Regions from separate parts of the Homo sapiens genome. Here all the other regions are linked to region 2. Evidence: promoter capture Hi-C in human tissues and cell types (Jung and others, 2019). All regions are on one chromosome and are shown on one strand. Each heading gives the region's core, a stretch centred on a gene start or on the middle of the fragment in contact. The rest is flanking DNA. Distances are from core to core; before and after follow the strand shown.

What was found. Contacts are between HindIII fragments. The study calls those that stand out against the background at their distance.
Region 1: a contact is called between the fragment with the promoter of UNC13A here and a fragment that was not itself captured in region 2, in 4 of the 25 tissues and cell types used here (aorta, dorsolateral prefrontal cortex, heart left ventricle and 1 more).
Region 3: a contact is called between the fragment with the promoter of PGPEP1 here and a fragment that was not itself captured in region 2, in 3 of the 25 tissues and cell types used here (H1 embryonic stem cells, dorsolateral prefrontal cortex and spleen).
Region 4: the fragment with the promoter of PGLS here is called in contact with a fragment that was not itself captured in region 2 in 2 of the 25 tissues and cell types used here (dorsolateral prefrontal cortex and lymphoblastoid cells).

The regions. Positions count from the first base shown.
Region 1 is chr19:17,687,098-17,690,271 of GRCh38, forward strand. It overlaps UNC13A (unc-13 homolog A), which reads right to left and starts at 1,257. Exons shown (of 44, transcript NM_001080421.3): 1 at 1,081-1,257. The coding sequence starts at 1,102. RefSeq lists enhancers at 1-398, 399-1,359 and a silencer at 593-775. The HindIII fragment of the contact is 19,419 bases long and covers 1-3,174 here.
Region 2 is chr19:17,952,946-17,956,346 of GRCh38, forward strand. It overlaps a transcript of KCNN1 not described here. Among named protein-coding and RNA genes, the nearest start is that of KCNN1, 12 kb to the right of the region's middle. RefSeq lists an enhancer at 1-116. The HindIII fragment of the contact is 4,437 bases long and covers 1-3,401 here.
Region 3 is chr19:18,338,903-18,342,406 of GRCh38, forward strand. PGPEP1 (pyroglutamyl-peptidase I) reads left to right here and starts at 1,696. Exons shown (of 5, transcript NM_017712.4): 1 at 1,696-1,813. The coding sequence starts at 1,780. RefSeq lists a silencer at 1,545-1,734 and an enhancer at 1,566-2,253. The HindIII fragment of the contact is 61,917 bases long and covers 1-3,504 here.
Region 4 is chr19:17,509,960-17,512,975 of GRCh38, forward strand. PGLS (6-phosphogluconolactonase) reads left to right here and starts at 1,690. Exons shown (of 5, transcript NM_012088.3): 1 at 1,690-2,001. The coding sequence starts at 1,714. It overlaps PGLS-DT (PGLS divergent transcript), which reads right to left and starts at 1,930. Exons shown (of 3, transcript NR_147835.1): 1 at 1,384-1,930. RefSeq lists enhancers at 536-1,193, 1,194-1,850, 1,418-1,667, 2,161-2,455, 2,418-2,677 and 1 more and silencers at 1,728-1,857, 1,868-1,917, 2,161-2,455. The HindIII fragment of the contact is 13,558 bases long and covers 1-3,016 here.

The sequences.
Region 1 (3,174 bases), core at 7-2,506, 270 kb before region 2:
TCTCCCAGAGTTTGATTTCTCAAACGGGAGTGCCCAGAACGCCTGGGTTCGGTTGGGCTGGCTTCCCCACGACCCCAGAGCCATAAAGGTGTGGGGTGGGGGGTCATGCCCCTCCCACGTCTCCCTCCCTCCTCCAACCCCAACGCAGAGCGTGGGCCTGGGCGTGGGCCTCTGTGCAGATGGCGTTCTGGCCCCAAAATAGCTCCCCCCCCACCTCACGTCTCCCTCCCTCCCTCTCTCCAGTGCAAAGTGGGTGAGGTGAGGATGGGCCAGGAGGGGGACCAGGAGACATTGCTCTTCCAAGAAGTAGGCTCCCTGCCGAGAAGGCCCTGAAACGTGTTTGGGAGAACCGGAGGGGGCAGGGAGCGGGAAGACCTTCTGGACATTCCTCCAACCCCCTCACTCGGGAGGCCAAAGAGTTAACTGGAAAAGCGCCCCCAGACCTCCAGTCACAGCCCTCTCTGGACGCTGGGAGGGGTCTCCTGTCTCCACACTCCCCCCACTCCAGTCCTCTTTACACCTAGGGCTGGGAGAGTCCTAGAACTCGTGGATGCCCTGATGGCCAAGCCCCTCTACCTATATCTTACATCCCCACGGCTTGGAGAACCCTCCCACCGCACTCTCCTTCGAATTTCCAGCCGGGTCCGCGTCCATGAGGACCCGTAACCCAGCCCACAACACCAGACCCCTTCCAAGCACCCCTGCAGGCTTCAATCAAACTACCGAGCCCAGACTCTTCCTCACTGACCCTCTAAAAACCTGGTCTACACAGACGCCCCAGTCTAGATCGTTTCCGGGTAGAACCCCGGATACCCGTCCACGTCCACACGGGCCTCCGCGTTCAGCCGCGTCCACACGACCCCTCCAGCAGCGGCCACCAGGACCCCCGAGAGCCCTGCCGCGTCTACACGGATCACCCCCTCCGGGGCCCAGCTGCGTCGACAAGGGCTACCCCTCTCAAAAGTCCAGCCACCTGGACTCGGGTCACCCCCCAGGAACCCCCTGGGAGCCGCATCCACGCGGACCCCGACCCCAGCCCGCGTCCACACGGGTCCCCCGACCCCCAGCCTCGCCTCCTACCTCCAACGCAAAGCAGAGACATGTCTCCGAGCTCGCAGGTGGGCCGGAGGCGGCCGGGCCGGCTCTGTCGGGTCGGGCTCAGCGGCCGCTGGGCTGGGGCATCTCCCGGCTGCAGCCCGCGCTTGGCTCACGCCGGGGCCCGGCCGCCACCGGCCATCTTGGTTCAGCACCGGGGGCGCGGACAGCGCCTGACGTGGCGCTGATGCGGGGCGGGCAGGCGGAGCCCAGGGACGCCTGATGGGGCGGGGGCGCTGCGGGCTGGGGGGGCGTTAAAGGGCCTGGCTCCGGGAAGGGGCGCCTCGCCCCACACCTCCTCGTTGCAGGGGGACAAGGGGCGACGGCGGCCCCCAAGCAGGTTTCCTCCTGTGCAGACCCTCACCTGCACTGAAATGGTGCACGTGCCCCCGCCACCCATGCATGGACATTCCTGCCCTGGTAACCTGGGCAAACGCCTCCCTGCAATACTCAAGCAAGTACAGGCAAATGCAAGCTCTTGTGTGTACGCCCGGCACCAGCACCGGGCAGATGGTCCTGTTCTCTGAGTATCTCTCTTCCTCTGTCTCTACGTCTCTGTCTCTCTAACTCTACTGCCTGGTCTCTTTCTCTCCCTGGGTCTCTGTTCCTCTGACTCTGTCCACTGCTCTCTCAGTCATGTGTCTCTTAGCCTCTCTCTGTAAAGTCTTTTTGCAGCTCTACTGCATCCTGTCTAGGTCTCTCTCTATGTCTCTAAGCCATCCAGCCCATGGGTCCTTGCCCACACTCTGAACTCCTTTTCATCCATCAATGTCTTGTCTGAATATCCTCTCCTCCAGGAAGGCTTCCCTGACTGCCCCAAGCTGAGCCTTTGTTTCTCCTCTCTGGACTCCCCCAGCCCCTATCCCTTCCTCTGATTGGGCCCTGACCCGAACGAAACTCTGCCACTCCTCCCCACTTTTCTTTTTTTTAGATGGAGTCTCCCTCTGCAGCCCAGGCTGGAATGCAGTGACGCAATCTTGGCTCACTGCAACCTCTGCCTCCTGGGATCAAGAGATTCTCCTGCCTCAGCCTCCCCGAGTAGCTGGGACTACAGGCGCATGCCACCATGCCCAGCTTTTTTTTTTTATTTTATTTTTTTTATTTTTAGTAGAGACGAGGTTTCACCATGTTGGCCAGCCTGGTCTTGAACACTTGACCTCAGGGGATCCGCCCATCTCGGCCTCCCAAAGTGCTGGGATTCAGACCTGAGCCACTGCGCCTGGCCCCCTCCCCACATATCAAACTGGGCAGCTCCATGTGGGCCCCTTGCCCTGCAACCTGCTCGCTGTATCACTGGCACCTAAACTAGCATGAAAGGCTGAGCCCCACAGGGTCTCCTGCCCCCAGCCCACATGAAAGAGCTTCATAAATGCAGAATGTGCATGGAGTTGAGTGAGGCCATTGTTCAAAACCAAACTCTGTCTCTCATCACAAGCATGGCCTTGGGCAGGTCTTGTGACCTCCTCGTGCCTCAGTTTCCGCACCTGTAGAATGAATATGATAACAAGTCCTGCCTCACAAGGTTGCTGGAGGTATTACATGAGTTAACATGTGAAACCAGTTGTAATTTTTTTTTTTTTGGAGGTGTAGTCTCAATCTGTGGCCCAGGCTGGAGTGCAGTGGCACCATCTCAGTTCACTGCAACCTCAACCTCCAAGTGATCTTCCTGCCTCAGCCTCCTGAGTAGCTGGGATTACAGGCGCTCGCCACCACATCCAGCTAATTTTTTTGTATTTTTTGTAGAGATGGGGTTTCACCATGTTGGCCAGGCTGGTCTCAAACTCCTGACCTCAAGTGATCCACCCACCGTGGCCTCCCAAAATGCTGGGATTACACGAATGAGCCACCGCGCCTGGCCCCAGTTGTAATCTTAATGCCTAATAGTAACCATGTTTGTATCTGTCACTGCTTTAAATTTTTAAAAAAATCAGCACAGCTAATTTTTGTATTTTTTGTAGAGACAGAGTTTCACCATGTCGCACAGGCTGTCTCAAACTCCTGGGCTCAAGTGATCCTCCCGTCTCAGCCTCCCAAAATGTTGGGATTACAGGCTCATGAGCCACCATGCCTGGTCTTAAA
Region 2 (3,401 bases), core at 863-3,362:
AGATCCACGAATCCCGGGACCCAGCTGGGGAGGTCAGCTTTGGGATCCTCTGCCCCCGCCGCCGTTTAACCCTGAGCGTGGGTTGCCAGGGCCCCAGAACTGGGGGGATTCCTTACTTTCTCCAAGTTTCTCCTCTGGCTAGAGACCCAGACAGGACTGAGCCAAGAAGCCCCGGCCTCGCTCTCTTCCGGGGCTCCCAGATCTCACCTCCTCTTGTCCCCCGTGTGCCCCCGCTCCCAGCCTCCTCAGGCTGCCCAAGACCTCATCAAAGGAAATCCCTGGGGGGAGGGGGCTTATAGATGGGGAAGTCAAAGCTTCTGGAGCCACGGAGGAGATAATTTTTACTCCGACGCAGCAACCCGCTGAGTGACCTTGGACAAGGCCCTGCCCTCCCAAGGCTAGGGTCAGCACCAAGTCCCCCTGGCTGGAACAGGTGGCCCCTGAGCCATCCAAGGTGACCATTGCCCCGATCCCAGGTCCTGGTGAGAGAAAGGGCAGCTGGGGGTTTCCCCTTCAGTCCTGTTCTGGGGTCTGGCATTGCCCCTGCCCTCCATGGGGTGTCCTTTTCTGCCCTCTTCTCCAGGATCGGACTTGGGTACCATGTGCTTCTATAAGCCCTCTGCAGACAGCACTAAATAGATGGAGGGAGCACGCCAAGGGAGCTACAGGCTCCCAGGGCAGCTTCAGAGCTGGGGAGCAAGAGTTCAGCTGCTCTGCCAAGCGAGGTGGTTCACAACTGTAATCCCAACACTTTGGAAGGGCGAGGCAAGCTCAGGAGTTCGAGACCAGCCTGGGCAACGTACTGAAACCCTGTCTCTACAAAAAATTAAAAAAATTAGCCAGGTGTAGTGGTGCACACTTGTAGTCCAAGCTACTTGGGGGCCGAAGGTGGGAGGATCGCTTGAGCCCGGGAAGTCAAGGCTGCAGTGAGCCATGTTCATGCGACTGCACTCCAGCCTGGGTGACAAAATGTCACCTCCCTGAATGTCACCCACCTAGATCTCCCCATGGCGAAGGAACTAGGGGCAATGTGAGGGGGTGAGCAGGAACAGCATTGGGAAAGACAGATAAAGCATTCAGTGTCTAGCTTCTGGAGCCCAGTGAAAGGAGGAGTGGCCTTAGGGAGGGGACATGGAAGAGGTGGGGCTAGCCCAGGGCCCCATTGGAGTGATAAAGCCACTGTTCTTAAGCTTCCTGAAAGCTTAGGAGATGACCCAGCTCAGCAACACCAAGCCAGAGCGCAGATCTGCTGTAAAGACCATTGTACGTAATAGGCTGAAGCAGGTGAATCACCTCTGGCCAGGAGTTCAAGTCCAGCCTGGCCAACACAGCAAAACCCCATCTCTACTAAAAATACAAAAAGTAGCCGGGCATGGTGGCAGGCACCTGTAATCCCAGATGCTTGGGAGGCTGAGGCAGGAGAATTGTTTGAACCCTGGAGGCGGCAGTTGCAGTGAGCTGAGATCACATCACTACACTCCAGCCTGGGTGACAGAGCAAGACTCTGTCTCAAAAAAATAAAAAATAAGAAAGACCACTGTAGTCCGGGAGCTGTCTGCACCCTACTCTTTTGGGTCCCCGCCTCCACCCCGCACCCCCTGTCTGATCATTACAGATCTCAAAGGGACAGGAAAGGCAGCAGCAGCCACCCTCTCTCCCAGTCAAGTGGTCACCAGCAGGACTGAAGGGGACAGCCCCTTTGCAGTGGCTCGGCGAGGAGACCCCTGCACCCTAGGGTGAGTGAATCCCAGACTTGGGTCGCCTTTGGGGGTGGGGGTGGCTCAGGGGTTGGATAGAAAAATTGGTAACTGGGCAGGCTAGGTGGCTCACGCCTGTAATCCCAGCACTTTGGGAGGCTGAGGCAGGTGGATCACTTGAGGTCAGGAGTTTGAGGCCAGTTTGGCCGACATGGCGAAACCCCGTGTCTACTAAAAATACAAAAATTGCCCGGGGATGGTGGTGGGCACCTGCAATCCTAGCTACTTGGGAGGCTGAGGCAGGAGGACCACTTGAATCCGGGAGGCAGAGGTTGCAGTGAGCCAAGATCGCGCCACTGCACTCCAGCCTGGGCGACAGAGCAAAGCTCTGTTTCAAAAAAAAAAAAAAAAAGGTGACCTGAGGAAAAAGTGCCAGCTTTTGAAATAATAACAAGCTGGGTACAGTGGCGTGCACCTGTGGTCCTAGCTACTCGGAAGGCTAAGGTGGGAGTATCGAGTCCAGGAGTTCGAGGCTGCAGTGAGCTATGATCACGCTTGTGAATGGCCACTGCACTCCAGCCTAGGCGACAGAGCGAGACCCCCATCTCTTTAATTAAAAAAAAAAAAAAGAAAAAAGGCCAGACGTGGTGGCTTACGCTTGTAATCCCAGCACTTTGGGAGGCCAAGGCAGGCAGATCACCTGAGGTCAGGAGTTCGAGACCAGCCTGGCCAACAGGGTGAAACCCCCATCTCTACTAAAAATACAAAATTAGCCAGGCATGGTGCTGCATGCCTGTAATCCCAGCTACTTGGGAGGCTAAGGCAGGAGAATCACTTGAACCCAGGAGGCGGAAGTTGCAGTGAGCCGAGATTGTGCCATTGCACTCCAGCCTGGGCAACAAGAGTGAAACTCCATCTCCAAAAAAAAAAAAAAAAAGAAAGAAAGAAAAAAAATAATAATATAATTATTATTATATCATATATATCATGATGATGATAGCAAGGACTATGCTTTCTAGAGCCTCCGGGGAGTTACTGTCCACTTTCTTTGATCACTGGAGTTGGGGAAACTATTCAGAGAGGCCAGATGACCTAGAAGTGGGGTGTTGAGCCAGGTTGGAAGAGCTCTGTCCCACCACTCCCGCCCCCGCCCCCCACACACAGCCTCTACTTCCCGGCTCTCGTGGTCTCGCTGGAGACAGCCCCCAGGGTAGGCCAGCTCTGTGGAAGGCAGCTCCTGTGCTCCTTTCTCCAGTGAACTTTTTTTTTTTAGTTTTGTTTTGTTTTGTTTTGTTTGTTTGTTTTGAGACAGAGTCTGACTCTGTCGCCCAGGCTGGAGCGCAGTGGCATGATCTTGGCTCACTGCAACCTCCACCCTCCACCCCACCGGGTTCAAGCGATTCTCCTGCTTCAGCCTCCCAAGTAGCTGGGATTACAGGCATGCGTCACCACGCACAGCTAATTTTTGTGTTTTCAGTAGAGATGGGGTTTCCCCATGTTGGCCGGGCTGGTCTCGAACTCCTGACCTCAGGTGATCCACCTGTCTTGGCCTCCCAAAGTGCTGGGATTGCAGGCGTGAGCCACTGAGCCAGGCCTCCTTGGTGAACACTGACTGACATCCAGGGTCAGCACTAAGCTGCCCATGGGGGTGTGGAGAAAACAGAGGTGGTGGTCATTTAGTCAATCAACAAACACTGAGCAAGC
Region 3 (3,504 bases), core at 446-2,945, 390 kb after region 2:
CTCTAACAGAACAACGCTTCCTCCTCTAGAAGTTCTCATCTCTATGTCGGAGGAAACGGGAAGCCAACCAGAGAGGCTGTGACCATACTAAATGATTTCTGCTTAATAATACCTGGGGAGGGGGCCGGAGGCAGTGGTTCACGCCTGTAATCCCAGCACTTTGGGAGCTGAAAAGGGTGGATCACCTGAAGTCAGGAGTTCGAGACCAGCCTGGCCAACATGGTGAACCTCCCTCTCTACTAAAAATACAAAATTAGCTGGGTATGGCGGCACTCGCCTGTAATCCCAGCTACTTGGGAGGCTGAGGTGGGAGAATTGCTTGAACCCGGGAGGCAGAGGTTGCAGTGAGCCAAGATCACACCACTGCACTCCAGCCTGGGTGACAAGAGTGAAACTACGTCTCAAATAAATAAATACATATATAATTTCTGCTTAATAATACCTGGGGGACTAAATAATCTGTACAACAAACCCCATGACACGAGTTTATCTATATAACAAACCTGCACATGTACCCCAAAACTTAAAAGCTAAAAAAAATTAAAAATGATTTCTGGCCAGGTGTGCTGGTTTACACCTGTAATCCCAGCACTTTTGGGAGGCCAAGGTGTGCGGATTGCTTGAGCTCGGGAGTTCGAGACCAGCCTGTGCAACACTATGAAACCCCCATCTCTACAAAAATACAAAAATTAGCTGGGTGTGGTGCCACACACCTGTAGTCCCAGCTACTCAGGAGGCTGAGATGTGAGGATCAGTTGAGCCCTGGAGGTCAAAGTTACAGAGCTATGATTTTGCCACTGCACTCCAGCCTGGGTAACAGAGTGAGACCCTGTCTCCAAAAAAAAGAGAGAGAAAGGAAATTATTTCTGAGCTTTATTGCTATGAAGAGGATGGAACCAGGGAATGAGATGGAACCACTGGGGGGTAGCAGTGAGGTCATTTCAGCCAAGGAGGGCCAGAAGGAACCCTCAGAGGAGGTAATAGGATAGCAGGGAGGTGATAGCCAGAGAAGGCCACAAGGAGAAAGTGACAGTTCACCCCTCGGAGGAGGTGACAGCCAGGACAGGAGGAGGGCCCCTGGGAGGAGGCGACATTGGAACACTGGAGCTGAGGCCTGAAGGAGGCCAGCTTCGCAGGTACCTGCGGGGTGTGTTCCGGCAGAGGGAACAGCAGGTACAATCGCCCTCCCCCATTAGCCTCCTAGGACCATGGGGGCCTGCAGAGAAACTTCTGGCACCACACAAATATGGTTGTCGTGTTTTTCCTTTTTTACTCTGTCCTCCCCCACCCCCGCCAACTTCCTGGCCTGAATGCTGCTCCTGTGACCCCTTGAGGCGAGTGACCTCGGGGAAGTGGCATTCTGTGCCTCAGTTTCCTTATCTGGAAAACGGGCCTTGCTCGCGGGGACTTCCCTCCCTAATTCTGCGCAGTATGCATGCATAGGGCAGGCCCTCAATGAACCCTTGCAGAATAAAGGACCGGCTCATCCCCAGCACCTGGCTCAGTGCGTGCAAGCGGCTACACACTACGGCATAAGATGTTCCCATTTTGCAGACGGGGAAACGGAGGCTGGGGAATACCGGGCCTAGCCGACGGGGGCGGGGCGCAGGGCGCGCACGCTGCGTCTCGGGCCCGGGGGCGCGCACGCCGAGCGGCTGACCGGGGGCGAGGCCGGGGGCTTGACAGGGGCGTGGCCTCGCGCGGCCGAGAGGCTGCAGCGGCAGCAGCTGTCGCGCCAGTCGCAACAGAAGCAGGTCCGAGGCACAGCCCGATCCCGCCATGGAGCAGCCGAGGAAGGCGGTGGTAGTGACGGGTACGCTGGCTGATGGGGGCTGTAGCGGCAGCGGCCGGGGGCAGAGGCGGGGGCGGCTCCGGGACTGCGGGGCCGAGAGGGGCAGGTGCTGGAAGTCCTCTCAGATTTGGAAGGTGTCATCACCCGCGGGAGCCCCGCGCAGCCCAGGCTTCCTGGAAAGTGGAGGAGGAGGAGCCTTGGGGGTCCCAGGGTCGGGAGTCAGGGCAGTCGGGCGCGGGGCTTGGGGGGCCGGGCAAAAGCCCGGCGCTGCGCAGGCCCCCCTGGCGTCCTTTCCTCCCAAGGTGGGGATGGTGACCCTCCTGGCACCTGCCTCCTCTGTCTGGCCTGCGGGCTGGACTGGACCCTTCCTCCCTGCCCCTTCCGAGGTCCAGCCTGTCCCCACACCGCTCCCCCAACCCCTGGCCCCAGGGGACAAAGGCCGATTTGCGGGCAGGAAGTGTCCCAGTGACAAATGAACCTCCCAGTCACTGCTCGCCGCGCCCTGCGCTCCTGGGGGGCTACTCTCCCAAGGCAGGGGCAGGTGGGGGTCCGGGGACCTCGGGCTCTCCCAGCTGTCCCAGGGACTGTCTTCAGCGGAAACCTTTTTGTGTTTTGTGCCAGGGCTGTTTGTTGGTGAGTCAGGGCCCCTGCTGTCACCGACTCCCCCCCACCCCCAAACCAACTGTTTCTCCTCCCTGAGACTCCGCCTCGGGGCCACGTGGGGCGCCAACTTCCGCTGGGGCCTCAGAGTCAAGGAGTGGGGGGGTCATTTTGACCTGCTGTCTGGAGGGGTCAGAGTGGGAAATCCAGCAAAGGTGCACACAGGTGTTTTGTGGCTGTTGAAGGGAGATTGAGGCTGATCCAGGAGATTCAGGGAAGAAGGAAGAAACAAGGCACCTGCTTAACAGGTGTGTATAATTGGGAGGAGGGTCACTGCCCCCATCCCTTCCAGCCTTCCTTTATCTGGTTATTTATTCCAGCACTTTTTGCATGAGCTGATTACATCTTTACTGTCTCCATTTTGCAGAAAGGGAAACTGAGGCTCACAGAGGTCATCCAGTTTGTAAGGGGCTGAGCTGAGACTCAAACTTTGGCTGTACAGAAGGATAGAGTTAGGAGGTCCCCTCCTGAGCCACAGCCCCTACCTGCTATCCCAGGCTACAGCATCTCTGCATAGCATTCATATCCTGTGGGATCACTGGCCCAGATGGACCGTATTTTTTTTTTTTTGAGACGGAGTTTTGCTCTTGTTGCCCAAGCTGGAGCACAACGGCGCGATCTCGGCTCACTGCAACCTTCGCCTCCTGGGTTCAAGCGATTCTCCTGCCTCAGCCTCCTGAGTAGCTGGAATTACGGGCACGCATCACCCCATCTGGTTAATTTTTTGTATTTTTAGTAGAAACGGGGTTTCACCATGTTGGCCAGGCTGGTCTCAAACTTCTGACCTCAGGTGATCCGCCCGCCTTGGCCTCCCAAAGTGCTGGAATTACAGGCATGAGCCACCGCACCCAGCCCCAGATCTGGATTTGAATCCCAGCTTTTTCACCTTCTTGCTGTGTGACCTTGGGCAGCTAGCTTCACCTCTCTGTGCCTCAGTCCCTGCTCCTGGAAACTGGGCCTAGGAAACACCCTTGCCTGAAAGGGGATGTGGCCAGGCTTAATGCCAGGAAGATCACTTAGCACAGCCTTGGGCGACTGTCGTGTTTTGGAAA
Region 4 (3,016 bases), core at 440-2,939, 440 kb before region 2:
ATATATGCATAGGTTTATTTCTGCATCAGTTCCAATCATTTATTTATATGTCTATCCTTATGCCAATACCACAGTTTTGGTTATTGTACCTTTTTATTGTTTGAAATGAGAAAGTATGAGTCCTCGTATTTTATTCAATATTGTTTTGGCTATTTTGGGGCCATTTGCAATTTATTATTAATTTTAGGATCAATTTGTCAATTTCAACAAAAACATTGTAAATTTGAAAGGGATTACATTGCATCCGTAGACCAATTTGTGGAGTACTGCCATCTTAACAATATTATACTTTCCAATCCATGAACGTGGAATGTCTTACCATTTATTTAGATCATCTTTAATTTTTTTTTTCACCAAAGTTTTAGTTCTTTTGCTTGTTTCGAGACAGGGTCTCACTCTATTGCCCAGGCTGGAGTGGAATGGCAGGAACACAGCTCACTGCAGCCTTAGTCTCCTGGGCTCAAGTGATCCTCCCACCACAGCCTCCCAAGTAGCTGGGACCACAGGCAGCTGCCACCGGGTCCAGCCTTGGCTTCCCAACGTGCTGGGATTACAGCTGTGAGCCACCAAGCCCAGCTACAGCTCTCAAGAAGTACAGTCTTGTACTTCTTTTATTAAATTTATGCCTACTTTATACTTTATGATGCTATGGTAAATGGAATTGTTTTCTTAATTTGCTACTGATTTTAAAATCCACTACCTGTGTGAGTTGAACTGCGCTTACACACATCACTGAAATATCCCACTCTCAGAAGTGGCCCAGCCTCCCCAGGCCCACCAGGCCTTCTTCCCCTTCCAGCCCTCTGTCCAGGCAAGAACTCGATTGGAGGCCTTTCTGGGCACTCAGAGGGACACACCACCACACTAGGAGGGTTAGCTTAAAAAATTCAACAAGCATGGCCAGGCGCAGTGGCTTTCGCCTGAATGCTACCACTTTGGGAGGCCGAGGCAGGAAGATCGCTTGAGCCCAGGGGTTCAAGATCAGCCTAGACCATATAGCAAGAGCCCGTCCGTCCGGAAAATGTAAAAAAAAAAAAAAAAAAAATTCAACAAGCATATTTTCATCCCCTACTTTTTTTTGAGATGGAGCCTCGCTCTGTCGCCCAAGCTGGGGTGCAGTGGCACGATCTCGGCTCACTGCAACCTCCGCCACCCCGGTTCAAGCGATTCTCCTGCCTCAGCCTCCCGAGTAGCTGGGACTACAGGCGCCCGCCACTACGCCCGGTTAATTTTTTGTGTTTTCAGTAGAGACGGGGTTTCACCGTGTTAGCCAGGATGGTCTCGATCTCCTGACCTCGTGATCCGCCCGCCTCGGCCTCCCAAAGTGTTGGGATTACAGGCGTCAGCCACCGCGCCCGGCGGTGCAGGAATTTTAAAACTCACCAAAATACGCCCTCCTTCAGAAAATCCCTGCCACCTCGATAGGACGTCCTCTTCTTGAGCTCCCCTCTCCGGCCCTCCCTGATACAGCAAGGTTGAGCATTCGGGCACTGGCTTCCCGAACTCACTTCGACTCAGGCACAGCAGGCAAAGATTCAATGGGTAGGGCCGGACCGACTGCCCGACCTTCGCGGTGCTTCACTTGCCTCACTGCGCATGTGCCAAAGACAATCACCCAAAGTACTCGAAACCAAGCGGCAGGGCCGGCCCTTGCGCAGGCGTACTAGCGACGGCCGTAGGGAGCGCTTCCTCCTCCCCGCCGCCGCCCTCGCCATGGCCGCGCCGGCCCCGGGCCTCATCTCGGTGTTCTCGAGTTCCCAGGAGCTGGGTGCGGCGCTAGCGCAGCTGGTGGCCCAGCGCGCAGCATGCTGCCTGGCAGGGGCCCGCGCCCGTTTCGCGCTCGGCCTGTCGGGCGGGAGCCTCGTCTCGATGCTAGCCCGCGAGCTACCCGCCGCCGTCGCCCCTGCCGGGCCAGCTAGCTTAGCGCGCTGGACGCTGGGCTTCTGCGACGAGCGCCTCGTGCCCTTCGATCACGCCGAGAGCACGTACGGCCTCTACCGGGTGAGAGCTACGGGGGCCGCCGGGGATCACGCCGAGAGGGCCACAGCCACCGCCTACACCCCGGCTACGGAGGCCGCCGGGGGCCATGCCGAAAGGGCCGCGCCCACTGTCTGCACCTCGGCTACGGGGGCCACTGGGTATCATGCCAAGAGGGCCGTGCCCACTGCCTGCACCTCGGCTACGTGGGTCGCTGGGGGTCATGCCAAGAGGGCCGCGCCCACCGGTTGCCCTCGGCTACGGGGGCCACTGGGGGTCATGCCGAGATGGTCACGCCCACTGCCTGCACCTCGACTACGGGGGCCGCTGGGGGTCTAGCCGACAGGGCTCGCCCGCCTCCTGAACCCCGCCTACAGTGGGTCCCGCAGGACCTCACTGCGCCCTCTGCCTTTATCTAGGCAGGGCTAGAAATGGTCTACTTGCAGTCCGTCTTCCTGCTTCATCCGGTGGCCAGGCAGAGGGAACGGCACGGGCAAGGGCCTGGAAGGGAATCCGAGTGGCCCATGTCAAACGATGCCCATAACTCAGCCCCGTAGCGGACGGGGGCACGAGGAATCAGGTGTAGAGCCTGAATCTCAGGGTCCTGATCTCTAACCCCAGCGAGTTCTCGGGGATCCCTGGGCAGCTTTGCCGCTCTGATGGCTCTGCTTCCAGGCTGTTCATCTTTGGCTTTGAGCCTCAGGATTCTATAGAATCAGAGGAGCGCGCTCTTTTAAAGACAGGGTAACTGAGGCTTGGAGGAGCCTTGGCCTGGCCGAGGGAAGAGTGGGAGGGGCGGGCTCAAAGGCCAGGAACCTCAAGTCACTTGAGTCTGGCAGCGTCAAGGGACACCCCATGCTGGGTGTGCCGTCTTCTCTTTGCATAGAATCTTGAGCTGATGATGGTTTTGTGGGTTTTTTATTAAGAGAAAAGGCTTACTGAACGCTTTATATGCATCAATTCATGAGTCCGTACCACAGCCTATGAGATGTTACACTCATTTCACAGATGGAGAAACTGAGGCCAGAAGAGGTGAGCT